Linked DNA regions of Homo sapiens: regions 2, 3, 4, 5, 6 and 7 are each linked to region 1. Evidence: promoter capture Hi-C in 16 types of primary human blood cells and fetal thymus (Javierre and others, 2016). All regions are on one chromosome and are shown on one strand. Each heading gives the region's core, a stretch centred on a gene start or on the middle of the fragment in contact. The rest is flanking DNA. Distances are from core to core; before and after follow the strand shown. Region 1 holds the start of TRAPPC8 (trafficking protein particle complex subunit 8). Region 2 has its middle 55 kb from the start of SLC25A52. Region 3 overlaps RNF125 (ring finger protein 125). Region 4 overlaps TRAPPC8 (trafficking protein particle complex subunit 8). Region 5 overlaps RNF125 (ring finger protein 125). Region 6 overlaps TRAPPC8 (trafficking protein particle complex subunit 8). Region 7 overlaps TRAPPC8 (trafficking protein particle complex subunit 8).

What was found. Contacts are between HindIII fragments. The CHiCAGO score rates a contact against its expected background, and 5 or more counts as called.
Region 2: a fragment that was not itself captured here is called in contact with the fragment with the promoter of TRAPPC8 in region 1 in 5 of 17 cell types (fetal thymus, total CD4 T cells, activated CD4 T cells and 2 more); the score reaches 7.7 in fetal thymus.
Region 3: a fragment that was not itself captured here is called in contact with the fragment with the promoter of TRAPPC8 in region 1 in 10 of 17 cell types (neutrophils, total CD8 T cells, naive CD8 T cells and 7 more); the score reaches 15.5 in neutrophils.
Region 4: a contact is called between a fragment that was not itself captured here and the fragment with the promoter of TRAPPC8 in region 1, in 13 of 17 cell types (activated CD4 T cells, total CD4 T cells, non-activated CD4 T cells and 10 more). The highest score is 11.3, in activated CD4 T cells.
Region 5: a fragment that was not itself captured here is called in contact with the fragment with the promoter of TRAPPC8 in region 1 in 7 of 17 cell types (naive CD8 T cells, total CD8 T cells, non-activated CD4 T cells and 4 more); the score reaches 10.6 in naive CD8 T cells.
Region 6: a contact is called between a fragment that was not itself captured here and the fragment with the promoter of TRAPPC8 in region 1, in 16 of 17 cell types (total CD8 T cells, non-activated CD4 T cells, total CD4 T cells and 13 more). The highest score is 15.4, in total CD8 T cells.
Region 7: a contact is called between a fragment that was not itself captured here and the fragment with the promoter of TRAPPC8 in region 1, in 15 of 17 cell types (naive CD8 T cells, total CD8 T cells, total CD4 T cells and 12 more). The highest score is 12.4, in naive CD8 T cells.

What each region holds. Positions count from the first base shown.
Region 1 is chr18:31,940,768-31,945,172 of GRCh38, forward strand. It overlaps TRAPPC8 (trafficking protein particle complex subunit 8), which reads right to left and starts at 2,361. Exons shown (of 29, transcript NM_014939.5): 1 at 1,841-2,361. The coding sequence starts at 1,997. RefSeq lists enhancers at 1,256-2,034, 2,136-2,345 and a silencer at 1,966-2,085. The HindIII fragment of the contact is 12,839 bases long and covers 1,068-4,405 here.
Region 2 is chr18:31,813,569-31,817,973 of GRCh38, forward strand. No RefSeq gene overlaps it. Among named protein-coding and RNA genes, the nearest start is that of SLC25A52, 55 kb to the left of the region's middle. The HindIII fragment of the contact is 2,516 bases long and covers 1,039-3,554 here.
Region 3 is chr18:32,056,390-32,060,794 of GRCh38, forward strand. The region is part of intron 4 of RNF125 (ring finger protein 125); the gene reads left to right. Among named protein-coding and RNA genes, the nearest start is that of RNF138, 33 kb to the right of the region's middle. RefSeq lists an enhancer at 1,280-1,815. The HindIII fragment of the contact is 2,736 bases long and covers 487-3,222 here.
Region 4 is chr18:31,830,533-31,834,937 of GRCh38, forward strand. TRAPPC8 (trafficking protein particle complex subunit 8) reads right to left here. Exons shown (of 29, transcript NM_014939.5): 28 at 1,552-1,641; 29 at 1-457. The coding sequence ends at 223. Among named protein-coding and RNA genes, the nearest start is that of SLC25A52, 72 kb to the left of the region's middle. The HindIII fragment of the contact is 1,655 bases long and covers 1,450-3,104 here.
Region 5 is chr18:32,036,299-32,040,703 of GRCh38, forward strand. RNF125 (ring finger protein 125) reads left to right here. Exons shown (of 6, transcript NM_017831.4): 2 at 818-971. Among named protein-coding and RNA genes, the nearest start is that of RNF125, 20 kb to the left of the region's middle. The HindIII fragment of the contact is 7,519 bases long and covers 1-4,405 here.
Region 6 is chr18:31,855,487-31,859,891 of GRCh38, forward strand. It overlaps TRAPPC8 (trafficking protein particle complex subunit 8), which reads right to left. Exons shown (of 29, transcript NM_014939.5): 20 at 2,054-2,496; 21 at 174-321. Among named protein-coding and RNA genes, the nearest start is that of TRAPPC8, 85 kb to the right of the region's middle. The HindIII fragment of the contact is 2,713 bases long and covers 1,130-3,842 here.
Region 7 is chr18:31,876,344-31,880,748 of GRCh38, forward strand. All of the region lies in intron 12 of TRAPPC8 (trafficking protein particle complex subunit 8), which reads right to left. Among named protein-coding and RNA genes, the nearest start is that of TRAPPC8, 65 kb to the right of the region's middle. The HindIII fragment of the contact is 214 bases long and covers 1,851-2,064 here.

The DNA of each region.
Region 1 (4,405 bases), core at 1,111-3,610:
ATTACAAGCGTGAGCCACCGCGCCCGGCCGAAAATTTTTTAATTATACCTGTGACTCACATTATATTTCAATTAGACAGCACTGCTCTATGGTGTAAATACATAATTCTAAATACTGTCAGGAGATAAGATGATTAAGAACACAATGTCTTGAGTCACACTGCCTGTTTCAAATCTTTCCCAGACGCAAAACTGTGAACAAATTAACACTTCTATGCTTCAAGGTCCTCAAATTTAAAATTGCAATAACAGGATTCAATGAGGACTAAAAAAGAAAAGTTACACAAAGCAAGTATCAGGTATTAGCATTATTATTATTTATTAAGAAAGAAGGAAAGAGTACACATATAAAAGTAAAACTAGCTCAAGTGTTTGTGTTTTTTTAGGAATTCAAGGCCGGGCGCGGTGGCTCACGCCCATAATCCCCGCACTTTGCGAGGCCGAGGCGGGCAGATCACCTGAGGTCGGGAGTTCGAGACCAACCTGACCAACATGGAGAAACCCTGTCTCTACTAAAAATACAAAAATTATCCGAGTATGGTGGCGCATGCCTGTAATCTCAGTTACTCAGAAGGCTGAGGCAGGAGAATCGCTTGAACCTGGGAGGCGGAGGTGGCGGTGGGCTGAGATCGCGCCACTGCACTCCAGTCTGGGCAACAAGAGCGAAACTCCATCTCAAAATAAATAAATAAATAAATAACAAAAAAATAAAAAACGTAGGGCATTTTGTTGCTCTTAAGTCCAACACTGAAGGAACTGAGACTGATGGCTACGATACAGGCTAAAGAAAATCCAAAAGTTTCCAAACTTTGTTTTTTTGGACAGCTCCCTCTCTCCGCTAAAAACAAAAGCTAATTTATAATGGAACTATTCTCCCAAAAAACATGGTAGCGCAAAAATGGTACAGCACTGATTTTTTTTGTGGATAAGTCATATTAAGCTAACAAACATCACAGTCGTTTGCCTGACACAGGCTTATTATGAAACCCTTCAGTTCTTACCGACCTTAACAAAAAAAACTTTACTTGGACTTTGTTGTTTGCAAGATATTGGCTAAAACATGCTTGAAGCTTTACCACATTATTTTCTCCTAATAAAAAAATCCAAAACTGGAGAAAACGGGTAGCTTCTTAACAAGACATTCATTAACAAGAGAAGACATTTCCATCCCTATAACTATAGATAACTCCAAATATCCAGGTTAAATTAACCACAACTTGGGCTTGCTTCCTCTTCCTTAGGGCAAAAAGCTGCTTCAAGTTTTATTCTTCTTATAATACTTTTAATTTTCTTGAGAGGTTAAGCAAAATACCGTATAGCTAAGAATATATTAGTAAAACAGCTACACGGTAGTTCAGACAGAGATGACCCTCAACGCTACAAGAATGTAATAACATCCACAACTACTTTCAAAGTCCAGTTTAACATCCAAGGGAGGATGACAGGTCTTCCTTACTCAGACCCTGTCGGTCTAAGAGGCAGCATTTTCCTACCTTAGCTGCTTTGCAAGTGCCTAATTCCTTCGCTATGGCCGTGGAGAACAGTCTCAATGCCGTTCTCGAAGACTCACGTTTATCTTTGCACCAATTACTTAACGACCTAGGTTGTCCGAGGAAGAAAGGAAGTGCCCAGAGAAACTGGAGCTTAGGACTGCGCTGTCTTGACAACCTCACGGTCCCTCCTCCAGCCGCCCCCGGAGCACCGCGGGGCCACAGCCCCAGACGCCACGGTACCGGCTCCAGGACGTAAACACTGCCCTTCTCTTCCCTGCCCGCCCGCAACTTCCTTCTCCCGACCACGGCTTTGCGGGAGCCCACTGGAAAAGGGAGGATACCACATACCCTCGGAAGTGAGGCGGGAGAAGGGCTTAAGCAGCTCCGCGAAGCTGAGGTGATTGAGACGAGTGAGCCGCTCGGCTTCGTCGCTGCACAGCGCAGCGACACAGGGGACGAAGGAGTCCGGGATTAGCTCCTGCACTGATTGTACACACTGGGCCATCGCCGCAGCACAGGCAGCGGCGGCGCCCGCCCTCCGGCCCACCCTGCGAGGTTATCCTGCGGCTGCAGCAGCTACCGCCGCCGCCCGCCGGCCTGGCCCGGCCGGGCGGGGCCCCGAACGCACTGGAGCCTAGAAACAAGAAGGAACAGACGCCGCCGCTTCGGTTTCTGGGGCACAATCCACTGACCCCCCCCTTCCCGTCACCGCCGCTTCTCAGCGCTCGTCCCCGCGTGCTCGCATTCCACCCCGATAGGTGGAGACGCCGACAGTCACCACTTAGTCCTTCGGACGGCAAAACCTTGGTCACTGCCCGGCCGGAACCGCCATGTTGAGGCCGAACCCTGACCAACCGGCAGTACTACTCCCAGCTGCCCCCGCGCGCGTCCCTCACGTGACTGTGTTAAAGGAGACGGTAGGGGCAAGGGAAGAGAGCTGAGGAGAGGGAAGTGAAAAACGACGGAGGCCGGTTGGGAGGCTGGAGCCGGAAGTGTTGTGACGGAAGCTCCCTGGGCGGGGCGGGGCTACAAGTGCGGTGGGCGGGGGCGGGGGCGGGGGCGGGGGCGGGGGGAGGTGCACAACTGTAGGCCGGGTTCTCAAGCTCGCCCTTAGCAGAGCAGAGCTGAGAGCCACCTACTAGCGGCAGGTGGAGCCTCGAGACGGGTGCTGTCGTGGTGATGGAGGCGCACGCTCGCTTCCCACGCAGTTTGGCCTTTTTGACGTCCCTGGCTGTTGTGGGCAACCGATTTGGTTGGTCGCGCTGCTTCCTACGCTCGCCGGCGGAGCAGCTAGTGGCACCTGCTCGGAGAGAGGGAGTGGATCTCTCGGAAGTGCTTGGGGTTTCGCTGAAGCGGACCTGAACAGACCATGTGTCCTTTAAATACAGCCATGCTTTTAGAAACGGACTGTCACTTTATGTGGACTCAACCATTGAACAGAATGTGTGCTTTTGTGAGTGCTGCAATTCCTTCAAGTGTAATTGCGCTACTGCATTTTTGTTGGTCGCAGGGAAGGGGTGTGCCTGCAAATGTCCGCGTGGTTCGTCCTCAGCCTCTTCCTTTTTACACTGTGCTAGGATGTTTACTTGCTTGTGGTGGAGGTAGGGGAAGCCAGTATTTGTGTACTGTGTACTGTCCTGAACCGGCTTTCATTCCTAACTTTTCAAAGATTGCTTTAAAGGGGGGGGGGCGCGGGTCAAATATTGTTTTAAAGGGGGGGACGGGGTGAGGTCAATGGTGTGTGCCTTGTAAGTAGAAATGAATGAAAGGAATTTTACTAATGTGTCACTCAATTGTTTGAGCTCCTTCTGTTTTGCATGCCAAAAATATAAGGCAAGGAAAAATGTATCATTCTATCATGATTTTATGGTGCTCTAATTAAAGGTGTCTTCCCCAACGTCAATGTCTCAAATTTTTCGACTTCTTGACACCCTCAGGTTTTCACTAAGGTAATAATTTATGACAAGTAAGATGTGTGCTTCTCATGTAAGTTGATAAATGGGAGGTAGGAAGGCACAGTAGGACATATTGATGACATGCCTTGGCTACAGATTAATTTATAAGAGAGTCCATCACTTTAGGAGATTTATTTGCCGAAGTTAAGTACGAGCCCAGGAAACAGGTCTATGCCTTTCTTCGAAGATGATTTTGAGTGCTCCAAATTTAAAGGGGAAAGGGCGGGATATTGAGAAGCACACCGTTTTCATGTAAGGGGGCGGTAGGAGAAAATAGTAATTCTTGCCTTTCTCTGGCTCAGTGAATCTGCATTTTTTACATAAGATGACATAAAATGGGCAGAGGAAGAATGTGGGAGTCTGCATTTTTCATAAGATAACAGACAAAATGGGGTAGGGGAACAATCAGATAGGCATTTGTGTCTGGCGGGCTGGGGTGGCCACCTGTAAAGATAAGCTATCAATTTGCATTGCCATGAAGTTTTAACAGCACACTAAGAATTTCCTTGTGGGCAAAATACGGGGGAGAGATGTAGCTTTTCATCTTGCAGCAATCTTATTTAGGAACCAAAAGGGGGAGGCAGATTTGCGTGACCAGTCCCAGCGTGACTTTTCCCTTTGGCTAAATCAGTTTGGGGTCCCAAAATTTAATTTCCTTTTGCAAGAGATAACATGTTACACACAATCCCTTTTCAATGCTTCTGATTCACTTCCTTACCCTTTATAATGTGAGAATCTCACATAATTTAGTGTGACTCAAGTTATAAGATACATTTTTTATAACAGGACTCCCAAATGCAAACATACTATTTATCTAGTACTCTAAAAAGTTTCAAAGGCCATTTATTTTTATGCTGAAAGTAAAAACAGCTGAATTAGACTCTTTGAAAAGGACTTTCAATGGTAATTTAGCCAAAATAGATTTTTCTGAGATATAATTCACATGCCATAATATTTA
Region 2 (4,405 bases), core at 1,047-3,546, 130 kb before region 1:
ACATTGTGCACATGTGCCCTAGAACTTAAAGTATAATAAAAATAAATAAATAAACAAAAAATTAAAATTAAAAAAAGAAAATTTAACAGGTGAAAATGTGAACTTAATTTAAATTAACAAATTGAGAGCTTCCTTTGTATAAAATTTTATTAGTGGGACATTGTTTTGATCATTACAAATAATTTTAATTTTCAAAGTAGCTCTTTTTATGGATCACTAACTAAATATACACATATGTGTATTTTAATATTATAAACTAGGAAGTATCACACACACATGACATTTTCTAATGCACAAATGGAGAACATGTAATTTTAAATCCCAACCCTACAATCACTTAGAAGTTAATATAAATCAGAGTTTAATTTTTTCAATTAAGATCAGCTTTTCTTTCTTTTTAAAATGGTATGTTTCCTATCATACCATTCCATCCCAGAAAAAAATAAAAGAAATAATTAAAAATACTACAAAATATGAGAGTTGTGATATCCCTGTCATAAATAAGGGACTAACGGTAAAACTGATTTTCCTGCAAAGAGTTAAAAATCCTTTATAATATCACACCATCTCATAAGGGGGAACGGTTACACTAAATATAGAACGTCTTGAATGCCTGCAAAGCCAAAATGGTGAATAATAAAAAGGAAATAAGCTGTGAACCAGGTATCAGCCTCCTCAAAGAGAAAAGTTTGTGTGAATATTGGGAACCCTAGAATTGCTTTATCAGTCATCTGAGGACATCCAGACTGCAGAACAATTGTCTTGATCTGCAAATAATTTCTGCTTATCATCAGACGGTTGTGGTGTAATACCAAGAAATAAATGTCTAGCACAGACTTTCTGTTTATGATGTTACACTAGAGGATGTATGTAAAAATGGTTTCTGAGGCTATCCTTACTCCTTGGCTCTTGGCTAGCAATCTTAACAATTTCTTGATATGACACTTTTTTTCCTTTAAGATTTTACTCTAAGGATAATTTTCCAAGTGGGTTGCATTCTGAAATTGTTTTGTTACTCTTAACATTACTCAAAAAAAAAGCTTCTCAGATGTGCAAAGGTATTTTCAAGGGATATAATGGCTGCTTTCTGTTGGGACATAATTCTTCATGAAGCTCTTGCGTTTCTGCATCTCTTGTGAGCCAAAGCATTAACTTCCATTTTGTTTCAGACTACCTTTTCCTGGATGTTTGTGTCAGCCTTGGAAGGTTGAGATCTGTCTCTCTCTAAAACTGACAGTTGGTTGCTTCCTGTCCAGTATAACAAAGCTAATATATCCCCCTACAGTGAAGGTCAGGCAGGTTTGCTTGCAGCCCTCTATAATAGATATTCTATAAATATTTTAGAAACCAAAGTTTGAATCTATGTTGCCCCATAATCAGCCAGTGAAAGCCCATTGAGACAAATGGAACAATGAAGACTGAAATTTAAACTTTTGTTTCAATGTGGAAATTTTGCTATTTGGGCAATTTCACTCATTTAGAAAACAGACTGTAGTTGGTGTCCTTGTTAACCCCAAGTCTTTGCTTAATTATTATTCAGTGCTGCAGCTTATAGTATTAGCTGTGATTTGGGGCCTTAAGGAAGGGCTTAGATTGGCCACAGTCAGGACAAAGCAGCATGAAAAAAGCTGTGGCCAAAGAGAAGCCTGTTACCTGCCAGTGGCCAGAGGTGACCCTGGAAGCCAGCACAGCCGCTGCCCAGACAAGAACAACCAGGACGGCTGTGAGTATCCTGGTGGATGATGAGGGGAACCTGGTCAAAGACTAGACTTCTTCTTTTTTTTTTTTTTTTTTTTTGAGATGAAGTCTCACTCTGTTGCCCAGGCTGGAGTGCAGTGGCGCGATGTCGGCTCACTGCAATCTCTGCCTCCCGCGTTCAAGCGATTCTTCTGCCTCAGCATCCTGAGTAGCTAGGACTACAGGCATGCACCACCAAGCCTGGCTAATTTTTTGTATTTTTAGTAGAGATGGGGTTTCACTGTGTTAGCCAGGATGGTCTCGATCTCCTGACCTTGTGATCCACCCACCTCGGCCTCTCAAAGTGCTGGGATTACAGGCGTGAGCCACCGCGCCCAGCCCAAAGACTAGACTTCTAAAACATCATCTGGGCGGGGTGTGATGGCTCACTCTTGTAATCCCAGCACTTTGGGAGGCCAAGGCGGGCAGATCACCAGGTCAGGAGTTAGAGACCAGCCTGAACAACATGGTGAAACCCCAACTCTACTAAAAATACAAAAATTAGCCAGGTGTGGTGACGCACACCTCTAGTCCCAGCTACTCGGGAGGCTGAGGCAGGAGAATCGCTTGAACCCAGGAAAGGGAGGTTGCAGTGAGCTGAGATCACACCACTGCACTCCAGCCAGGGTGACAGAGTGAGACTCTGTCTCAAAAAAAAAAAAAAAAAAAGATTCTGGGACAAATGCCCATCAACGATAGACTGGATAAAGAAAATGTGGCACATATACACCATGGAATACTATACAGCCATAAAAAAGAATGAGTTCATGTCCTTTGCAGGGATACAGATGAAGCTGGAAACCATCATTCTCAGCAAACTAACACAGGAACAGAAAACCAAACACTGCATGTTCTCACTCATAAGTGGGAGTTGAACAATGAGAACACACGGACACAGGGAGGGGAACGTCACACACTGGGGCGTTCCCCCAGGGCAAGGTTGGGGGCAAGGGAAGGGATAGCATTAGGAGAAATACCTAATGTAGATGAGGAGTTGATGGGTGCAGCAAACCACCATGGCACATGTATACCTATGTAACAAACCTGCACGTTCTGCACATGTACCCAGAACTTAAAGTATTAAAAAAAAAAATGACTCCGAGAGACGAGAATTGAGGGGATAAGTGGTCAACAATAACAATACTAAACTCAGCCAAATTAACTGCTGTATTAAAAATTGGGTTTCAATAATAAAATGTGGCACATCAAACCAGCCTGCCCCTATAAAAATATCAGGTTGATCTATTCATCAAACAAATATTTTTGAACATATAGTCTATGCCCAGGCACTGCACAAAATCCATAGGTATAACATGATGAACAACATGGCTTCCTGCTAGGATCTTAAACACTCAGAGGGGACAACACACCTTACTGGCAATGGCAACATAGTTTTATTAGTTAGGGTATGTTCAGCAAAAAAAATCAATAGGTTTAATAAAATTAAACTTTACTTCTTTTGCACAAAAGTCCAGATAGACAGTCCCAGGCAACTATGTAGACTCCACAATCATCGGGACGATGGGCTTCTACTAAATTGTTGCTCTATCATCGACACATGGCTTCCACCTTGTGGAAGATTCCCAGTAATGGGAGATCTCTCAAGAACCCACAAAACATTCCCTGGTGCCCAGAGACCATCAATGCCAGGTTATCACAGTACCGGTGAGGTAAGGCGTTCCTACACCCTTGCTACTCCTACTTAGGTACTTTTACCAAATTCTGGAAGATTCAGAGTCAGCCAAGTATATTAACACAGGAAGGAGAAGCACACAGTAGAAAAATGGAGAAGTTGGCCATCTTCCTCCCAAACTGAAAGCTTCCCAGGAGAGAAGCCAATGTTAACTTTATGAAATTCAGAATGCTGGTTATTAAAGTTCTTGGAAATTTTAATTATTGAAATTGAGGCTCTTCTTGAGATTTAAAGTGATCAGAGGGCATTGGTCAAAAGAGTTATGGTACCCAATATCTCATTCATCAGTTCATTTCTTCTATTCAATTCAACAAGAATTTCTAGTATGTGTCCTGCATTGTTCTAAGTATTAAGGAATGATATGAAAGAAACAAATCTCACAGTTGATGTGCCAAGCCCCAAGTTTACAATCAAAATAAAGCCTAGAATCTTGAACAGAATTGGTAACTTAAAATAGTGCGGTGGTTGCTATAGAGTGTCGACCTTAAAGAGATTCAAGAAATATGGTTAAATATAGCATTTAGTCAAGCACAAATTTTAAGGATAGGCATCCAGGAACACAGATTCCAAAGAATGGAAGCCAGTGCTCCAAAGTGGAGAAGTTTTGGGGGTCATTTATATAAATAAGGTTTGGGAAGCTTAACAATGTTTCAACATTTTCCACACAAGGCTAGCACACAGTTACAGTAATCTGATTAATTGAGGTGGTGTTCTTTTTGGGAAAGGTATATTTAACATTCCACATTGAGGATATAACAATCATGGAGTCTTCCGCACCATCTGATCTGAGTTAGATGCAAGATAATAAAGGAGGAAAGGCTAGCCATCATCAGGAGGGGGAGGTCTTATGTCTGGCACCATTTAGTCTTTCCTAATTGATTTGCAGAACAAGAACAACGAGAAAGAATGAATCTATAACCTGAGAAGCAGAAATTGCAGCCACATGCATGTGCTCAGACCACACAGTCACATTTC
Region 3 (4,405 bases), core at 605-3,104, 120 kb after region 1:
TCACCTGAGGTCAGGAGTTCGAGACCAGCCTGACCAATATAGAGAAACCACCCCCCATGTCTACTAAAAATACAAAATTAGCTGGGCATGGTGGCCCATGCCTGTAATCCCAGCTACTCGGGAGGCTGAGGCAGGAGAATCACTTGAACCCAGGAGGCAGAGATTGCGTTGCAGTGAGCCAAGATCACGCCGTTGCACTCTAGCCTGGGCAAAAAGAGCAAAACTCCGTCTCAAAAAAAAAAAAAAAAAAAGACAATTATAGAAAAAAAGATAATAACATTAAACAATAAAAAAGAGCAAAACTCCATCTCAAAAAAAATTTAAAAAAAAGAGCAAAAGGAGTGGGAAGTTTTTCTAATTCTCATGGATTACAGTAGGAGAATGAGAACAGGTGCAAAAGAAACTCAATGCACTTGGCTTTATGCCAACAATGATTTTTTTACACAGCAAAAAATTACAAACCTTCTTCCTTACCTCTCTTCCTCAAGCTTATACATAATAGACATACAGCAGCATTTCTATTTCTACATTATACTTGGGCTGTTTATAGTATTGAGCTAATAAAGATTTTTACACAGTCGTAGAGAAAAGGGTCCTCAGAGGTGATCTAATGTAGCCTCCCTCTCAAGGTGATAAGTAACTTACTGTGTGAGTGCTTGAAGTTTTCCAGAATGGTAACCCAGTTATTACAAGGATTTTGTTTCTACACCTTTCAACATCTTAATTTCCCTTCTGTGTCTATTGCAGTTTATTGATGTTTTCCTTACCCAGCACTTAAAATAGAACACAGCACTCCAAGAATGGTCAGTGAATGCAGAACAGAGGAAACAACCATTATTCTAGATAATTGAATGTTATCCATACAGCACTGTACTAGCTTTTTTATGATTGAGTCATATTTCTGGCCTAATTATGATTCTCAGTAAAATAGAACCCCAAATGACTTTTTTTTTTTTTTTTCTGAGACGGAGTTTTGCTGTTGTTGCCTAGGCTGGAGTGTAGTGGCGCGATCTTGGCTCACTGCAACCTCTGCCTCCCGGGTTTAAGCGATTCTCCTGCCTCAGTCTCCCGAGTAGCTGGGATTATAGGGGCATGCCTCCACACCTGGCTAATTTTTATATTTTTAGTAGAGACGGAGTTTCTCCATGTTGGTCAGGCTGGTCTCAAACTCCTTACCTCAGGTGATCTGCCCACCTCAGCCTCCCAAAATGCTGGGATTACAGGCATGAGCTACCGCGCCTGGTCCAAATGACTGTTTTTTTTATAGGTACTGGAGTTAAGAAAGGTGTTCTCCATTACAGCCTAGGTATTAGATTTAGAATTTCTCATTTGTTCGCCTACTATTTTATCTTGTTTCTCTGAAAGAAATTATATTGTCTTTAAGGCGGTTGTTCTCAAACTTTATCATGCATGAGAATCATCTACAAGACCTGTTTAAACATAGATTGCTGGCCTCTGCCCCTAGAGTGTCTGATAAAATAGGTCTGAGCTAGGGCCTGAAAATTTGCATTTCTAACAAGTTACCAGATGGTGACAATGCTGCTGGTCTGAGGACCCCACGCTGAGAACCATTGCTTCCTTTAAAGCGCTAAAGTGGCCAGGCACCGTGGCTTATGCCAGTAGTCCCAGCATTTTATGAGGCCAAAGTGGGAGGGTTACTTAAAGCCAGGAGTTTGTGGTTACAGTGAGCCATGATCATACCATTGCACTCCAGCCTGGGTGACAGAGTGAGACCCCATCTCTAAAAAAAAAAAAAAAAAAAAAAATTAAAGGGCAAGTGAGAAGTATGACCATATATGTACTTTCAATTTTTGTGGATGCATAGTAGGTGTATATATTTATGGGGCACATGAAATACTTTGATACAGGCATGCAGTGTGTAATAATCACATCAGGGTAAATGGCATACCCATCACCTTAAGCATTTATCCTTTCTTTGTGTTACAAACAATCCAATTATACTCTTTTTTTTTTGAGAGGGAGTCTCGTTCTGTCGCCCAGGCTAGAGTGCAGTGGTGCGATCTTGGCTCACTGTGACCTCCGCCTCTCAGGTTCAAGGGATTCTCCTGCCTCAGCCTCCCAAGTAGCTAGGACTACAGGCTCATGTGACCACACCCAGCTAATTTTTGTATTTTTAGTAGAGACAGGGTTTCACCACGTTGGTTAGGCTGGTCTCAAACTCCTGACCTCAGGTGATCCACCCACCTTGGCCTCCCAAAGTGCTGGGATTTCAGGCGTGAGCCCCTGTGCCTGGCCTATACTCTTAAATGTACAATACATTATTGTTGACTTTAATTGCCCTGTTGTGCTATGAAATGCTAAATCTTATACATTCTATCTAACTATATTTGTGTACCCATTAACCATGCCCACTTCCCCCAATCCCCACTACCCTTCCCAGCCTCTGGTAACCATCATTCTACCCTCTATCTCCATGAGTTCAATTGGTTTAATTTTTAGCTCCCACAAATAAATGAGGACATGTGAAGTTTGTCTTTCTGTGCTAGGCTTATTTCACTTAACATAATGTCCTCCAGTTCCATCCATGTTGTTGCAAATGACAAAATCTCATTCGTTTTTATGACTGAATGGTACTCCATATGTACCATGCTTTCTTTACCCACTTGTCTGTTGCTGGACACTTAGGTTGTTTCCAAATCTTGACTATTCTGAATAGTACTGCAATAAAAATGGGAGTGCGGATATTTCTTGAATATACTGATTTCCTTTCTTTGGGGAATATACCTGGGAGTAGGATTGCTGGATCATATGATAGTTTGATTTTCAGTTTTTTGAGGAACCTCTAAATTCTTCTCCGTAGTAGTTGTACTAATTTACATTCCCACCACCCGTGTATGAAGTTTCCCTTTTCTCCACATCCTCGTCAGCATCTGTTATTGTGTGACTTTTGGATAAAAACCATTTTACCTGCGGTGAGATGATATCTCATTGTAGTTTTGATTTGCATTTCTCTGATGATCAATGATGCTGAGCACTTTTTCATATGCCTATTTGCCATTTATATGTCTTCTTTTGAGAAATGTCTGTTTAAATCGTTTGCCTGTTTTAAATTGAATTACTAATTTCTTTTCCTGTAGAGTTGTTTGCACTCCTTATATATTCTGGTTATTAATCCCTTGTCAGATGAGGAGTTTGCAAATATTTTCTCCCATTCTGTGGGTTGTCTCTTCACTTTATTGATTGTTTCCTTTGCTGTGCTGAAGCTTTTGGATGTGATTCCATTTGTCCATTTTCGCTTTGGTTGCCTGTGTTTGTGGGGTATTATTCCAGAAATCTTTGCCCAGATCAATGTCCTGGAGAGTTTCTCCAATGTTTTCTTTTAGTAGTTTCATAGTTTGAGGTCTTAGATTCAAGTTTTTAATCCATTTTGATTTGATTTTGACTATTTTTTTTTAATTTGATACTATCTTGACCAGCATTGAATAATCTATATCCTAAGGATTTAGAGGAATAATTATCCTTTCAAAAGAATCTTCCTCATCTGATCAAAAATGGAAAGAAACATCTGTTTCCACCCACATCAAGTGTTGTTTTGTTTCAATCCTATTAAAGCAGCCTTGGTCAGGAGATCTTTCCCCTTTTCCTAGCAAGAGGATTTCTTTGGTCCTCAATTTGGTCATTTGTAAAACAAAGGTAGAGAAAATCTACTCAATGATTTTGGTTATTTTTGGCTTTATGGTTTCTTGAAAAGAAAGAACAATAAATGAAGATTCATTGCATAGAAAGGGCCTATTTGGAGTCAACATGCTCAAGGCCAGGAAATAGAAACCACAGGGCTAAGGGGATCAACTGAAGGCATCAGTAGGATGAGGTGAAGCTCTTCTAAGCTGCCAGGTCACAAATCAGGACAGGCAGATGTCCGGTCCCTGACACACTGGCCTGCACAGTGAATGGGCTGTAAGCTTATCCACTAAAGACCTGTCATTGTTGCGGGTGGGTTGGTGGGAGCATAAGGACATGATAATATCACCATGTCTAGTAAGTGGGAGGCTAATCTTAGAAACAGTTTTCAATTCTTTGAAGTTGGTAGTAGCTTCTAATATGGTAGCTATTATTTGCCCATTGCATTCACCATCAGAAAAAGCCCATACAGAGATGAAGCCAGCATATTTTGAATGTACACTGTATAGTTGTTGGCTCTTAATATAAGTAGTATAGCCTGGGAGCATTGAGTAGAGACAAGTAAGAAAGGATGAGCTGATGTTAGGAAATGGACAACATTGAGTATAAGTCAATACTTAGGTAATCTTCAGTCTGTCTCTCACCTACCATTTCTTTCTCCTTCCTATTCTTACCCTCTCTTCCCTCAGGTTTAATCTCCCAATTTAAGAAACAAAAGAAGTTTTTCCACTAGTACCGACTTCAGCCCATTGTTTTGCAATGT
Region 4 (4,405 bases), core at 1,027-3,526, 110 kb before region 1:
AGCATGTAAATTATTCTCAGGGTTTAAAGAAATACAGAAAAAGAATGTTAAGTATTCTCAGTCCAACGTGCTTTGCATCATCAACAAAATGACAAGTCAAAGTATTTTGCAGGGATCAGATATCAATCAACCTCCATAACAAGTTAGGTATATCAAATACTGCTGTAAAACCCATCCAGCAAAAACTGATTATTGTGGATTTCAGTACAAATTTCCAAGTTGTCACACATTACTGATGATGATCAGGGCAGGCATGGAATTCTGCTGACTTGTTTCAAACACTGTAACTTGGTCCGATAACTTGGCAAATACCCTAGGAGTTCCAAGGTTATAAACACCTGTATGAACAAAGCATGCTTTCAGCTGCAGACTGTGAATCTCCTGGCTTTTAAGTTGAAGTTTATACTGTGTTTGTCCAAGCCATGTGAATGATCCATGGATTTCCAGTGCTTCTGGACTAAGGGAGGAGGAAAATGTAAGTTGCAGGATTTTTTTCTTTTTAATTTTTTTCCCAAAGTCACATTAACATATCCCTTTCAGCTGGGCGCGGTGGCTCACGCCTGTAATCCCAGCACTTTGGGAGGCTGAGGCAGGTGGATCACCTGAGATCAGGAGTTCAAGACCAGCCTACCAACATAATGAAGCCCCGTCTCTACTAAAAATACAAAATTAGCCAGGTATGGTGGTGCACGCCTGTAATCCCAGCTACTCAGGAGGCTGAGGCAGGAGAGTCACTTGAACCTGGGAGGCGGAGGTTGCAGTGAGCTGAGATTGCACCACTGCACTCCAGCCCATGAGAGAGCAAGACTCCATCTCAAGAAGAAAACAAACATCCCTTTCATCTAACAATTCTATTTCTAAAAATTATTTTATGAAGCCAACTGTTTATTAATAATAGCAACATCATTACTATAACAGCTAACATTTATTATTTAATAGTTTCTATTCTCTAGGCACAATGCTAAAAGTGGATTATTTCATTTAATGCCCTAAGAGTTAGTATATGTTGGAACTTGATTTCAAACCTAAACTTTTAACTCCTTAGTTAGCCATATATAAGTGTCTGTACATGAATGCTTTTAATATTGAAACTGTTTATAATATTGAAAAATGGAAAACCCAGTACCCAATAAAGTATTAATAAATTTATGATACACAAAATCACATATATAGGTGTGTGTTTGGATTTCAGAGAACTGTCCCAGATCCTGTTTGGGGTGTTATACAAAAATATTAAGTATACGCTTTATAGTATTTTTCCAAAAATTCAAAAATTTCTGAATTCCCAAAAGCATTTGGCTCTAGGAGTATCTGATGTGGGACTGTGGATCTGGATTTTTTTTTGTTGTTAAGTACTATTTTATAATCAAGAAAAAAAAATCTTTAATATTTAAAGCCTCTGTAACACATCTGTAAGCCTTCTATATTACCAAACAAAAAACCAGGACAAGCTTGAGTAACTTTCTTATCCATGTTAGGTAATTATTTGCATAATTTCAAAATATTAAATTGCTCCCAAATCAAATAACCTTGCACTAAACAAATCTTTACCTTGTTGTTTTATGCCGAAGATCAACTATGACATCTACATCAGCCTTAGAACAATTGGAAAGTAAAAGAGTGACTGGTACTAAACAAAGGCTATGGAAGAAAAATAAACAAAAAAGTTATATATTTTTTTCTTCTTAAAAGCAATTTTCCTGAAAATAACACTTAAGACTATGTAACAGAGCATAAGCTCCTTAAAAACAATCAGATTCAAGAAGGAAAAAGCTCAAGTTCCAAAATCACTCAAGACAAATTATATTGTAAATAAAAAATATATTAATACAATGACAATATTAAATATCAGAATATATACATTCACAGAACTATTTTATTTTCATTTATTAATCTTCTAAAAACAACTAAAATGTTTCTAGATATTTCACAAAATGAAAAACAAAATCTCAACTTAGATCAATGAAGAAAAAGTAAACCATGAAAATGCCAACAACTAATACTGTTGTCTTTGTGCTTATTAAAAATTACTTAATTTTGAGAACTTGGCCTAGACTGACATTTGTTTTTCTATCAAATTTGCACAACATCATGTTTTGAAGAATATAAGAATGATTTCTATATAGTTATGAGGAAATCTCTTTCGAGTGGATACATTTTGCTCAGGTAGCCTAGTTTCTGATACCATAATTAATAAATTACTAAAGCATAGGAAAAAAGGCAGTGATAGAAGAGGACATGCGAATAGAGTGGTACAGATTTCAAATCAAGAATGCAAGAAATGAATATAACATGTACAAATGAAGCAGGGTTATATACTATTATCTACCTTTTACTCTATAAACACAAAGATAGTAAAGAAGAAAAAATAGTAACCGTATAAGTTCATACACATTAACTTTTAAATTCTGCTCAGATAATATATTTTATACTTTCAGAAACTTTATATCTTCTTACTGAGAAATACTTTTTAAACAATACCGCAAACGTCACAGGTTTCCCTAAACAAAAACTAAGATGATTTAAAATACATACCAGGTTGTACTGGTGCTATGCCCTAACTTCCCCCACAAACTTCTCATGTGGCAAGAAGGGCAACAAAGACTACTGGGTAGGTGTCCAGTCAGTCTGAAGCATCTCATTAAATTAAGTTCCAATTGCATAATTTGTAGCCCAAAGTAAAAATTCAGGAACTTATGCTATTCTGTTCCCATTTGATCCTCAAATGTCAAATTCTTTGTACCTTATACAAATGCTTCTAGTAGAAGAAGAAATGTGAACATGTGGATATCTCCTGGTCCAAAGTGAAACTCATCATCTTCATTCCAGTGAAGAGCACCCCCATCTACCCCAGCAAACTGTAAGTATCATACTGATTCCTCCTAACAGTCACTAACCTCCACTCCCAATGTTCTTCACAAATTCCTGCCAATTCTCTCACCCACACATCTCTGGAACCTGGTTACTTCACTGTATCTCATTTTCCTTACAAGTTCAAGTCTCATGTCTCATTTTACTGCAAGAGCCTCTTAATTAGCACCACAATGCAATCTATTCTTTAACCATGTTTCTCACACTTGAGTATGCACCAGAAATACCTGGCAAGCTTGTTTTAAAAAACCTGCTGGGCCTACTCTCAGAGATTCTGATTCCATAGGTCTGGAGTGTGGCCCAAACATTGCATTCCTAGGCTGGGCACGGTGGCTTGCGCTTGTAATCCCAGCATTTTGGGAGACCGAGGCGGGCGGATCACAAGGTCAGGAGATCAAGATCATCCTGGCTAACATGGTGAAACCCCGTCTTTACTAAAAATACAAAAAGTAGCCGGGCGTGGTGGCAGGTGCCTATAGTCCCAGTTACTCGGGAGGCTGAGGCAGAAGAATGGCATGAACCCAGGAGGTGGAGCTTGCAGTGAGCCGAGATCACACCACTGCACTCGAGCCTGGGTGACAGAGCAAGACTCCGTCTCAAAAAAAAAAAACAAAAAACAGAAATTACATTTCTAAGTTCCCAGATGATACTAATACTAATGCTCCTGGTCTGGGATCACATTTTGGTTGTTGTTGTTGTTGTTGTTGTTGTTTTTTATTCTTTGAGATGGAGTTTTGCTCTTTTTGCCCAGGCTGGAGTGCAGTGGCACGATCTTGGCTCACTGCACCCTCAGCTTCCCAGGTTCAAGCTATTCTGCCTCAGCCTCCCCAGTAGCTGGGATTACAAGCGCTCGCCACCACACCCGGCTAATTTTTTTTTATTTTTTAGTAGAGATGGGGTTTCACCATGTTGACTAGGCTGGTCTTGAACTCCTGACCTCAGGAGATCCGCCCGCCTTGGCCTCCCAAAGTGCTGGGATTACAGGTGTGTGCCACCAGGTCCAGTCTTGGGACCACATTTTGAAAACTGCTTTACACATTAGTTTTTCTAAAATGCTAATCTAATGAACCACAAACAGGGCTGAGAAATCAAAGTTCTGACAACTATTCTCCCACCACTGCATCCAGTGAAAAAGCTGGGCTCTAGAGTCAGACTGCTACCTGTACCTCAGTTTTCTCAACTGTAAACTGCAAAGAATAATAATTGATTCTACCTCTTGGGTTTGTTGTGATTAGGTAAAACATGTTAAGTGCTGAGAATGGTGACTAGCACATGTTCAAAAGCTCCATAAACATTATTTAATATAACAATTTATGCTCATGGCAGCTAAACATAGTATGATTTTATCTTTGTTATCTCCTGTCACCTATTCTTTCTTCTATTCTCATACCTCTACTGCTCTGTGTCCCACTACCATGACCAAACCTCCTACTGTCCCATTTCCTCACATTTCTACTTGTTTTCTGAAACCCCCATTAAATTAAGAATGCTTCCTTATATCCTCCATCTCTTCTCTTTGTGTTTCTACATCTAT
Region 5 (4,405 bases), core at 814-3,313, 95 kb after region 1:
ACAGTATACTTAAAATTTAAAAAGCCTACCTTTGGACATGTATTAATACTCCCAAATAGATATTATGTGCTGAGTAGTTTAAGAGGCATCAGGTCATGCTCATGTGTATAAATTACCCAAATGCTCATTTTTATTTCTATGTTTATGGAGTCTTCAACAACTCCTATAAATAGGTCAGAATTTTCTGGAAATGTTGATTATGTTAAGATTTCATAATGAGCACCTTTAAATAAACCAGAGAACATATTTCTTGACCAGAAAGGAAGGAAGGAAGGAAGGAAGGAAAGGAAGGAAGGAAGAAGGGAGGGAGGGAAGGAGGGAGGGGAGAGGGGAGGGAGGGAGGGGAGAGGGGAGGGGAGGGAGGAAGGGAGGGAAGGAGAAAATGGTTTTATAGGGAATTATAATGTGTCTGGTATTTTTACTTCCTTGACTTCCTGCTATTTTCTTATGTGACACACAAAACCCCACAGAAGAAAGACATATTTTCTCAAGAAATTTGAGGTAAAATCCAATTTAGACATTCTTTAAAGTATCGTTTAAACTTAGCCTATAGGAAAGCTATTTCACCCACTTTGAATTCTTACTTTTCTTGAAATGTGTGAAAGTGCATGTGGTAAGAATGTGTGATTCTAAAGAAGTCTTGCTGGGAAGGTAAGCAATTCTCGGGAAGTGCAGGGTGCAAGTGGACCTGTAATTTGGTAGTATGGCTCATGGGGTACGAGGTGTCATTAAATTACAGTTTACACAAATGAATACATGGTGGTGGCTCCTTATAGCTTTCAAGGAAAGTGATGTATTTTTGGTCTGTTTGGGGTAGATTCTGCCGTTCCTGTATTGCTACCAGTCTAAAGAACAACAAGTGGACCTGTCCTTATTGCCGGGCATATCTTCCTTCAGAAGGAGTTCCAGCAACTGATGTAGCCAAAAGAATGAAATCAGAGTATAAGAACTGCGCTGAGTGTGACACCCTGGTATGTATGTGACCCCACCTATTTTCATGGTTACCAGCTTAAGTCCCTGCGAAAGTTATCATTTCACCTCTGCTTCTGACCCCATGGTACGCACCTTTTTTTTTTTTTTTTTTTTTTTTTGAGACAGGTTCTCGCTCTTTCACCCAGGTTGGAGTGCAGTGGTGCGATCTCGGCTTACTGCAACCTCCGCCTCCCAGGTTCAAGTGATTCTCCTGCCCGCAGCTTCTCGAGTAGCTGGGTCTACAGGCACCTGCCATCACGCCTGGCTAATTTTTTGTATTTTTAGTAGAGACACGGTTTCACTATGTTAGCCAGGATGGTCTCAATCTCCTGACCTCATTACCCGCCTGCCTCGGCCTCCCAAAGTGCTGGTGAGATGTGAGGCCAGCTGGACTTCCCGGGTAGAGTGGGGACTTGGGAAACCTTCCTGTCTTACAAGAGGATTGTAAAACACACCAATTAGCGCTCTGTAAAATGCACCAATCAGTGCTCTGTAAAACGCATCAATCAGTGCTCTGTAAAGTGCACCAATCAGCACTCTGTAAAACGCACCAATCAGCAGGATTCTGAAAGTAGCCAATCGCAGGGAGGATTGGAAAAACTGCACTCTGATAGGACAGAAACGGAACATGGGCGGGGACGATAAGGGAATAAAAGCTGGCCACCCCAGCTAGCAGTGACAACCGGCTTGGGTCCCCTTCCATGTTGTGGGAGCTTTGTCCTTTTGCTCTTCACAAGAAACCTTGCTACCACTCACTCTTTGGGTCCGTGCCATTTTTTTTTTTTTTTTTTTTTTTGAGACAGAGTCTTGCTCTGTCGCCCAGGCTGCAGTGTAGTGGCGCCATCTCGGCCCACTGCAAGCTCCGCCTCTCAGGTTCAAGTGATTCTAATGCCTCAGCTTCCCGAGTAGCTGGGACTACAGGCATGTGCCACAATGTCTGGCTAATTTTTTGTCTTTTTAGTAGAGAGAGGGTTTTGCTATGTTGGCCAGGCTGTTCTCAAACTCCTGGCTTCAAGTGATCTGCCCACCTTGGCCTCCAAAGTGCTGGGATTACAGGCGTGAGCCATCTCACCCAGCCTCCAATTTCATATATGTACATATATCATCTGCAGAAAACCCTGAACTTCTACCATCACCCGTAATTTGTCAAACAAATGCTTTCATTGACCACCTCCATTTTCCCTTCTTCCCATTACTCCAGTGATCCTCTATGATATGTCCTCCAGTTCTGCTACTCTGTTGCAGACCACTAATGAATAGCTTTATTATCAAACCCAGTGACATATTTCCACCTGTATTGATCTGGACTTTGCAGTATTTGTCTCTATCAAGCACACCTTGCCTGTTGCAGTTTTCAACTTGGGTACTATATCAGCTTCCCCAGATCATGTGAGGTCTTGAAGGTTATGTAGAAGATTCTAGATTTTATCTTAAATGCAATAGTAAGCCAGAGAAAGAGAGTAAGTTTTGGAGTGCCAAGATCGGGCTTATATCTTTATTTTTATTTTTATTTGAGACAGAGTCGCACTCTGTTGCCCAGGCTGGTGTGCAGTGGTGCGATCTCAGCTCACTGCAGCCTCCACCTTCTGGGTTTAAGCGATTTTCATGCCTCAGCCTCCCGAGTAGCTGGGATTACAGGGGCCCAACACCACGCCTGTCTAACTTTTGTATTTTCAGTAGAGACACAGTTTCACCATGTTGGCCAGTCTGGTCTTGAACTCCTGACCTCAGGCGATCTGCCCGCCTCGGACTCCCAAAGTGCTGGGATTACAGGCATGAGCCACCATGCCCAGCCCAGGATTGTATCTTTAAGATATCACTCTAACATACACATAGAAAATGGTTTGGAGGCCAGGCGCAGTGGCTCATGCCTGTAATCCCAGCACTTTGGGAGCCCGAGGCGGGAGGATTGCTTGAGCTCAGGAGTTCAAGACCAACCTGGGAAGAGACCTTGTCTCTACTAAAAATCAAAAAAATTAGCTGGGGCATAGTGGTATACGCCTGTAGTCCTAGATACTCCAGAGGCTGAGTAGGAAGAGCGCTTGAGCCCAGGAGATCAAGGCTGCAGTAAACTATGATCGTGCCACTGCACTCCAGCTTGGGCAACATAGCAAGACTCTCTCAACAAAAAAGAGGAGCTGGGGAGAGGATCATGTTCATGTTCATGTTAGAGGGTGGTTTTAAAGGTAAATGATAAATATATATGTGATATATATATAACTGATGATTGTCTTTTAACACAGTGTCTGGAATATAGTAAATGCTCAAAATTAATAGCTTTTTACATTCTTAATAATAGATTATTGCCTATTTTTACTTTGTCTTCACATAAAATTCATACACAAAATCAAACTCATTATATTGTTTAATCATCCAATTCTTGATCCCACCTTGGTGTCTGTCAGAAACAAGAGGATTCTCTCAATTAACTTGTGTGGAAATCCACCACTCCCCCTCCCCCATTATCTGATTAATCACAAAGATTTTGATTTTTTTCTTTGAGATACTTTTTTTTTTTTTTTTTTGAGATGGAGTCTCACTCTGTTGCCCAGGATGGAGTGCAGTGGTGTATGATCTTGGCTCACTGTAACCTCCACTTTGCACGTTCAAGAGATTCTCGTGCCTCAGCCTCCCGAGTAGCTGGGACTACAGGCATGCACCACTATGCCCGGCTAATTTTTGTATTTTAGTAGAGACGTGGTTTCACCATGTTGGCCAGGCTGGTCTTGAACTTCTGACCACAGGTGATCTGTCCACCTCGGCCTCCCAAAGTGCTAGGATTACAAGTATGAGCCACTGCGCCCAGCTTTGAGATACTTCTTATATTCTGTCTTTTCCTTTCTGTGTTATCCCTCTTTCTAGGAATGCTCCCCATTCCTTCTACGCACATTTTGCCCTCTCCATGTTGCACTCTCTGTGTTCTTCAGAGTCCCGCCAGATCTCCATTCCTTGAGGCCTGGCCTTAGTTTTCCAGTTCCCTATATCAAACAATTTCTTTCTTTTTTTTTTTTTTTTTTTTGAGACAGAGTCTTGCTCTGTCACCCAGGCTGTAGTGCAGTGGCACCATCTCAGCTCACTGCAACCTCTGCCTCCTGGGTTCAAGCACTTCTCCTGTCTCAGCCTCCCAAGTAGCTGGGACTATAGGTGCACACCACCACACCCGGCTAATTTTTGTATCTTTAGTAGAGAGGGGGTTTCCATATTGGTCAGGCTGGTCTCAAACTCCTGACCTCAGGTAATCCACCCACTTCAGCCTCCCAAAGTGCTGGAATTACAGGCGTGAGCTACCACGCCCAGCCCCTATATCAAACAATTCCTTATCTACTTGTCTAACATCCTTTTTTCTTCTGTTAGATTGTAAGCACCATTAGAACAGGCACAATGAACTGCATTTCTTCTGCCATTTTTTATAATGTTTCAAATAATCTTGTGT
Region 6 (4,405 bases), core at 1,236-3,735, 85 kb before region 1:
GATAAAATCACAAATCTAATGAAGAATTAAGATGATTTCATACTATTCTACATGAACATTCCTAAAATCCCTAGCTTATGCTGTCTTGTAAAGGAAAACAAAAACCACTACTAAACACAAGGGAAACACTTCAAATATAATTAAAAACAAAATTCAGTTTTAAACCAACTTACAGTATTGGTATTTTCCACATCCACAAAGACTAGCATATTGCCTCCTCTGCCTTCTTCATTTTCAAGAGAATTACTTCTGCAGACAGTGGCCCGTACATTTAAAGACCGACTGGTACAAATAATTGCAGTGTGTCTTAATATTCTGTGCCTGAAGTTAAAAAAAAAAAAAAAAGCACATTTAAGCACAGAGTCTCTATGTTATAATTATCTAATTCCAAATAAAGATTTTAAAAACTGATCACTCTCAGGACCATTTATACTCTAAAAATCCATAGAATACATTAAGTAAAATTACATAGTTAGCCTAACTTCAGTTCAATTCTTTCTATCCAATTTGGAAGGAAACTACTAGTCTCCCTGTCTAAGTTTTTGCCCTGCTTATCAAATTCATCTGTATAACACATAAAAATAATCTTCATATGGTAATGTTCTGATTGTGCTTCTTTCTCTCTCTTTTTTTTTTGAGACAGAGTCTTGCTTTGTCACCCAGGTGGGAGTGCAGTGGGGTGATCTCAGCTCACCACTGCAACCTCTGCCTCCCAGATCAAGCGATTCTCCTGCCTCAGTCTCTGAGTAGCTGGGATTACAAGCATGTACCACCACACCCTATAATTTTTGTATTTTTAGTAGAGATGGGGTTTCGCCATATTCATCATCTTCATCATAAGGTGTCTGCTTTCTAGGATATTTAGGGTTAATGTGCTGTACTTTGGTGATCTCCCCCCAAAAATCAATCATATTCACCATCTTCATCAGCCATATTGGTCAGGCTGGTCTTGAACTCCTGACCTTAAGTGATCTTAAGTGAGGCCCACCTCAGCCTCCCAAAGTGCTGGGGTTATAGGTGTGAGCCACTGCGCCCAGCCTTGCTTCTAATAGTGGTTCTGAAGCTACTGAATGACTACCAAATAAAGTTCAAACTTTAACCTGGTATTCAAAACTCCTCACCATATATAAGCTTTACATTTCAAAGGTTTCTTCCTCTTTACTTCTTTTACAAAAATTTTACACTGTGGCTGAACTAACTACATTCAGTTTGTGTTCTCTAATCTGTAAATCTTTACAAATAAAATATATACAGCCGCTCCCTAGAATAATACCCACTACTCTCTTGCATATCCCTCCCTTGATATTCAAATGCTAAAATCTTTTTTTTTTTTTTTTTTTTTTGAGACAGAGCCTTGCTCTGTCACCCAAGCTGGAGGACAACGGTATAATCACGGCTCTCTGTAGTCTTGACTTCCTGGGCTCAAGCGAATCTCCTGCCTCAGCCTCCCAAGTTATTCCTAGTTAATTTTGTAAAAATGACAATGGAGGTATCAAAAGAAAATATTCTGTTGAACAAAATATAGGTCATAGATCCTGGATGAGCCAGTTAGCTTTGATTTCTTCAGTGATCATCTATTGTAACACCATTATAATCTTCTCTTCTGTAAATATGTACTGTTTTTCATACATTCTTGTGGGGCAAGGGGGAACACTAGGGAAAAGGTAAAACAAAACAATTTTCTTAAAAAAGGATGACTGAGACGACCAGGCAGGTTGTCTTCATACATAAATGACGCCCTATTTTAATACATGGTACCTGTTAATTTCATTATTATGTGATAGCTCTGTCTACAGTACTTAAATCGTATCAAACAATTGAGAAGTTTACAGACAGAAGCAACTAAAAAAATGTGTGCCGTTAAATTTTATTTTTTCATTTTTGGGTACCTAGAACTTACAGTTCTATTTGAGACAATTTCAGATATAAATATCCTGCATAATCTGGAACAGAGTAATTTCTTAACATGTTAGTAAATATCAAAATGTTTATCTGAATATGTGCATATACATTGAACATAGATGTTAAATTTTATAAGTTTTATAATACTAACCGTATTTTTGGCTGCTTTTTGACACTTTCATAGTAAAACAAAAAGTTAATTTCATGGACACCTTCTTCATCAGGCCCACGTAACCACATTGGCAGCTGCACTGAGGCTCCGGGTAGAAGAACAGTGTCAGGAAGGGGAACAGGAATCACCTCTGGTTGACTTCCTGTGCCAATGCCAAAGTCTACAGAAGAAGCTGATGATATGAGTGCTGTACACACAGAGGTAGCATCTGTCACAACAGTCTTGTAAGCACTACAATTCTCAGAAGCTGAGGGACTTAGTGGTGTTAGAACAGCAGTATTACCACCGAAAGTAAAGAACTCTGGACGTTTAGAAACAACCTTCAATCCAGTAAGTGGACATTTGCTGACATTGACAAATTCTACATATGCTTTTCGGATTTCTCCACAGAGAAGCCCTGTAGGAAAATGTATAAAGAACACCTGCATTGGAGGGAAAAAATATTATTATTTGTCTGTTAAAAATTTTGAACCTCTAATGAATAACACTTTAAGACACTTTTTTTTTTTTTTACCAAAGGTTTACAAGTGTTTCATTAATTCTTTGGTATCTCCCTGAATATGTGGCAGTTAATGACTCCATTTTAGAAAATATGATGAGACAGAAGAATGTTACTCTGCCACTCAGTAGTGATTCTAGACTTATGAATTAAAGGTATACTATCAGTACACAAGAGGGCTAACATGTCAAAATTTCACAACTTGGTAGATTATGGACCAGAAAAGTTGAAAGTAATTTAACACGGCTATATGAAGTAAATATCAGTTTTATAACCCTTATAACTGTCAACTAAAGAAGCAGCTCAACTACTTATGTCTATATCATCAAGATGAAAAGATATGCCAGATTTACTATGGGTTTTAAAGTGAAAGAATGGGCAGATCTATGATTTCATATCCATAATTTTAAAATCCAAAAAACTCCAACCTCAGGCTTTTAGTAACTCATGTGGGGGCAAAACCTGACCTAATAGAGGCTTTTTATATTCTTTCCCATTTAGTGTGATATTAATACAGTTCATGCAAGAAATATTAATGTTTGGTTACTAGGTGCTGCCACAAAGCAATGGGGTTTACATAACTTCACACACACACTTCTAAAAAAAATTTTTAAATTGATTTCCAACACACATGTGGCCTCAATATTTCAGATGAGGGATTGTGGACTTGTGCTTAAAGAGACAGAAATTTGGGCTAATGAAATCATACAGTAAGTTATCTGCATTTAAAAGATCTTTAAGTATACTGGCTGGGCACAGTGGCTGATGCCTGTAATCCCAACACTTTGGGAGGCCAGAGTTGGTGGATCCCAGAGTTGGTGGATCCCTTGAGCTCAGGAGTTCAAAACCAGCCTGGGCAACATGGTGAGACCTGTTTCTATCAAAACTACAAAAAATGAGCCGCACGCCTGTGGTTCCAGCTACTGGGGAGGCTGCAGTGGGAGGACTGCTCGAGCCCAGGAAGCAGAGGTTGCAGTGAGCCAAGATTGTGCCACTGCACTCCAGCCTGGGTGACAGAGTGAGACCCCATCTCAAAAAACAAACAAACAAACAAACAAAAAAACAGATATTTAAATGTCACAACTAACATCTAAGCAAGCAGGAAGATAAAGGTAACAATATGAGTGAAATGTTCTAATAAAGTTATAGCTGGCAGTCACTTCATGAAATTCCAGTGAAAATATGTTTTTGAATCTAAATGTGAGTGGGACTTCATTATGGCCATATTCTTAAAAAGAAAAAAATCAGATGAAATTTGGGGACATTAGAAGCTTTAAAAATAAATGAGAAAACAAGGGATTAATGTAGAAATCCCGCACATAGATTTAATAGGATAAAAAAATAAGCTAGACATAGCATTATACTGAAGACACTGACTCTCTGTACTGATTAGTCAGTGTCAAGCTTATAGTCGAGCTAAAACTTGTGGAGGAATTATTAATTTTGTTATTACATCCAACACAGCTGCATTAACAAAAAGTGAAATAGAGTATTCAGTGTGTAAAAACACACTAAAATACATAGAGACACCTAGATACCATCAAGAAGGTTACAGCATTGGTAAAATGGTAACAGTGATAGAACACATAAAAGACTAGTGGTACCAACTATGTATAGGATCACATGTACCTTCAGAACACAGGTTTACTAAATACACTATTTTGACTCTTTAAGAAGAACAAGGCCAGGCACAGTGGCTCACGCCTGTAATCCCAGCACTTTGGGAGGTGGGCAGATCACGAGGTCAGGAGTTTGAGACCAGCCTGACCAACATGGTGAAGCCCCGTCTCTACTAAAAATACAAAAATTAGCCAGGCATGGTGGTGCGCACC
Region 7 (4,405 bases), core at 708-3,207, 65 kb before region 1:
GCCGGGCATGGTGGCGGGCGCCTGAAGTCCCAGCTACTCAGGAGGCTGAGGCAAGAGAATGGCATAAACCTAGGAGGCGGAGCTTACAGTAAGCCAAGATTGTGCCACTGCACTCCAGCCTGGGCTACACTGCGAGACTCCATCTCAAAAAAAAAAAAAAAAAAAAAAAGATCACTTACTAGGGACCTCAGATCCTCAGATGCCAGTTCTCCTCAGAAAGATCAAAGTAACTAATTATCCAAACAGAAAACTGAGAAAAGACAGCCAGGATATGATGAAGAACCCATGGAAAGAAACTAGAGTGCAGGAAAGAAAAACAACAAGAGTTTGGCAGGGATCGAGTGCTGAGGAACACAAAACCCCATGGAAAGGGTAAGTGGGAGTACTTCTCTGCTGCCCTCACCCCTCTGACCATCTGTTCACCATCCAACTGATGGGGAGTCCCTCTGCCCTCATGATGCAGGACAACACTAACAGTGGCAGTTTGAGAACGTCCCAGGGACAAGGATGTGGGTGGCCAGCTCACACAGGCATGCCCGCCCTCCTTTCAGGCCTGAACTGAGACAGGAGATACCACTGCCCTGCCCAGGAAATCTCTGCTCTTGAGTCACCACCGCACCACCAGATCCCTAACATATTCACAACTGCTGTGACATTAGCAAGTTTAGGAGACCAGTGGGTCCCCAGAGAAGGTGTGAGACCCATGGAGATGTAACCGTTAATTTAGGCTGCCCCTAGGGGAAGGGGGGACAGTAGCCTGCCAAAGCCCCACCTTGAGACAAAGGTAATGCAAGCAAGCAACAATCGCTGAAGTGGGCAGCCCCAGCGGCTGGAAATGAACATGAAGAGGGGATCATTTCCCGCCCACCCCATCCACTGTTGTGAACACAGGAGAGGTTCTCCCTGCTGGGAGCTGGCAGACGTGTCCTTGGGGAAAGCACTTTTCATGCTTTTTGTGGTGGCTCCATCACAGCTAAAAGTGAGCCTGGCCGGGCGCGGTGGCTCACACCTGTAATCCCAGCACTTTGGGAGGCCGAGGCAGGCAGATCACAAGGTCAGGAGATCGAGACCATCCTGGCTAACACGGTGAAACCCCGTCTCTACTAAAAATACAAAACATTACCGGGGTGAGGTGGCGGGCGCCTGTAGTCCCACCTACTCGGGAGGCTGAGGCAAGAGAATGGCATGAACCCCGGGGGGCGGAGCCTGCAGTGAGCCAAGATCGCGCCACTGCATTCCAGCCTGGGCAACAGGGAGACTCCGTCTCAAAAAAAAAAAAAAAAAAAAGTGAGCCCATGGCCAGGCACGGTGGCTCACGCCTATAATCCCAGGCACTTTGGGAGGCCAAGGCGGGTGGATCACCTGAGGTTGAGAGTTTGAAACCAGCCTGACCAACATGGTGAAACCCCGTCTCTACTAAAAATACAAAATTAGCCAGGCGTGGTGGCGCGTGCCTGTAATCCCAGCTACTCGGGAGGCTGAGGCAGGAGAATCGCTTGAATCCAGGAGGCAGAGATTGCAGTGAGCCGAGATCGCACCATTGCACTCCAGCCTGGGTAACAAGTGCAAAACTCTGTCTCAAAAAAAAAAAAAAAAAAAGTGACCCCATGCCAACTGGGCTTGCAGGAAGGGCAAGGCCCAATTCCCCCTCCCTACAGAGAAGCATCCGGGCAACAGAAGGTGGACAAGCTGCAAAGCTGTTTACTCTGTACTAGAGGAAGAAGTTCCGCCCTGAGCCCATTTTGGTGGCAGCTGCCCGTTTTGGTGGAAGTGTACTCTGGTCAGAGCCTAATGGACAAAGTCTACATGAACTGATGGTTGTGAGCCCTCTGACCGGGGCGTGATAAGGAAGCTTCTGTCTGCTCAGGATGAGCAACTGGTGCACCCCATCCCAAAAAGGATCAAATAATCTATAAAGTAAATATTATCAGACTAACAACAGACTTCTCAGAAGAAACCTTACCAACAAAAAGAGATTTGGGGCCTGTTTTTACCCTTTTTAATGACAAATAAAAACAAAAACAAAAAAACTACTAGCCAAGAATTTTACAGCCTGCCAAACTAAGCTTCATAATTGAAGGAAAAAATAGTATTTCTCAGACAAGAAAATGCTAAAGAAATTTGTCACCACCCGACCAGCTCTACAAGAAATGCTCAAAGGAGTTCTAAACACGGAAACAAAAGGATGATACCTGCTAACCATAAAGATACACGTAAGTACAAAGTTCAAAGATCCTATAAGGCAGTTATACAATTGGGACTACAAAGCAACTAACAACATTATGACAAATACAAAACCTCACTTATCAATATTAACTTTGAACAAAAATAGCTTAATTGTTCTACTCAAAAGACAAGATCCAAGCATATGCTATCTACAAGAGACCTATCTTCTGTGTAACGAGATCCACAGGCTCAAAGTCAAGGGGTGGAGAAAGATCAATCACGCAAATGGAAAACAAAAAAGAGCAGGGGTTGTTATTCTTGTTATCAAATAAAATGGACTTTAAACCAACAACATAAAAAAAAAGACAAAGAAGGGAATTATATAATGATAAAGAGTTCAATTCAACAAGAAGATTTAACTAGCCTAAACATATACACACTCAATACCAGAGCATCCAAATTTATAAAACAAATACTACTAGACTGAAGACAAGACAAGCAGCCATACAGTAATACTGGGGGACTTCAACACCCCACTGACAACACTAGACAGATCATCGAGGAAGAAAACTAACAAAGAAACTCTGGAATTAAATCGGACTTTTGACCAAATGGACCTAATAGACGTCTACAGAAGATTCCAACTGACAACTACAGGATATACATTTTTCTTATCTGTGCATGGAACATTCTCTGAAGTTGACCATATACTGGGTCACAAAGCAAGTCTCAAAAAATTTTAAAAAGTCAAAATCATATCAAGGATCTTCTCAGACCACAGTGGAATAAAATTAGAAATCAATACCAGGAGGAACGCTCAAAACCATACGAGTACATGGAAACTAAGCAACTTGGTATTGAATGACTTTAGGGTAAACAATGAAATTAAGGCAGAAATTTAAAAAAATTTTGAAACAAATGAACACAGAAACACAACATATCAATACCTCTTGGATACAGCAAAAGCAGTGTTAAGAGGAAAGTTTACAGCACTAAATGCTTATATCAAAAAGACAGATCTCAAATTAATAATGTCACATCTAGAGGAAACAGAAACAAGAACAAACCAAGCCCAAGCTGGCAAAAGAAAAGAAATAAAGATCAGAGCAGATCTTTATTCTTTAAATGAAATTGAGACCAAAGAAATCATACAAAGAATCAACAAAATAAAGTTATTTGAAAACACAAACAAAATTGATGAGACTACTAGGCAAGATTAAGCAAGAAAAAGAAGAGATGATTTTAATAAGCACAATCAGATATGACAAAGGTGACATCACAACTGATACCACAGAAATACAAAAGGTCCTCAGAGAATACTATGAACCTCTATGCACACAAACTAGAAAACCTAGAGGAAATGGGTTAATTCCCAGAATCATACAATCTCCCAAGACTGAACAAGGAAGAAACTCAAATCTTGAATAGGTCATTAAGTAGTTACAAAATTCCATCAGTAATTAAAAAAAAAAATAAATAAACAACCAAATGAAGCCCAAGATAGCTGGATTCAAAGCCAAATTCTACCATATGCACAAAGAAGAGCTGGTACCAATTTTACTGAAACTATTGAAAAAAAAAATATATATATATATATATATATATATATATATTTTTTTTTTTTTAAGGAAGAAAGATTCCTCCTTAACTAATATCATCCTGATATCAAAATCTGGCAAGGACATACACACAAAAAGAAAACAAGTCAATACCCATGATGAACACAGATGCAAAAACCATCAATAAAATACTAGCAAACCAAATCCAGCTGGACATCAAAAAGTCAAATTAATCACAATCCAGTGGGTTTTATTCCAGAAATACAAGGATGGTTCAATATTTGCAAACCAATAAATGTTACTCACCACATAAAGAGAATTAAAAACCATATGATCATCTCAATAGATACAGAAAAAGCATTCAATAAAGTCCAAAATCCCTTCATGATAAAAGCTCTTAACAAACTAAGCACTGTAAGAAACATACCTAAAAATAATAAGACCCATATATGACAAACTCACAGCCAAAATCATATTGAATGGGGAAAAGTTGAAAGCATTCCCCCTAAGAAGGGGAACAAGACAAGGATGTACACTCTGCACTCACACCACTTCTATTCAACATAGTACTAGAAGTCCTAGCCACAGCAATCACGCAAGAGAAAGAAGAAAAAGCATCCAAATAGGAAAAGAGGAAGTGAAATGATCTTTGTTCAATGATGACAAGATCCTATACCTAG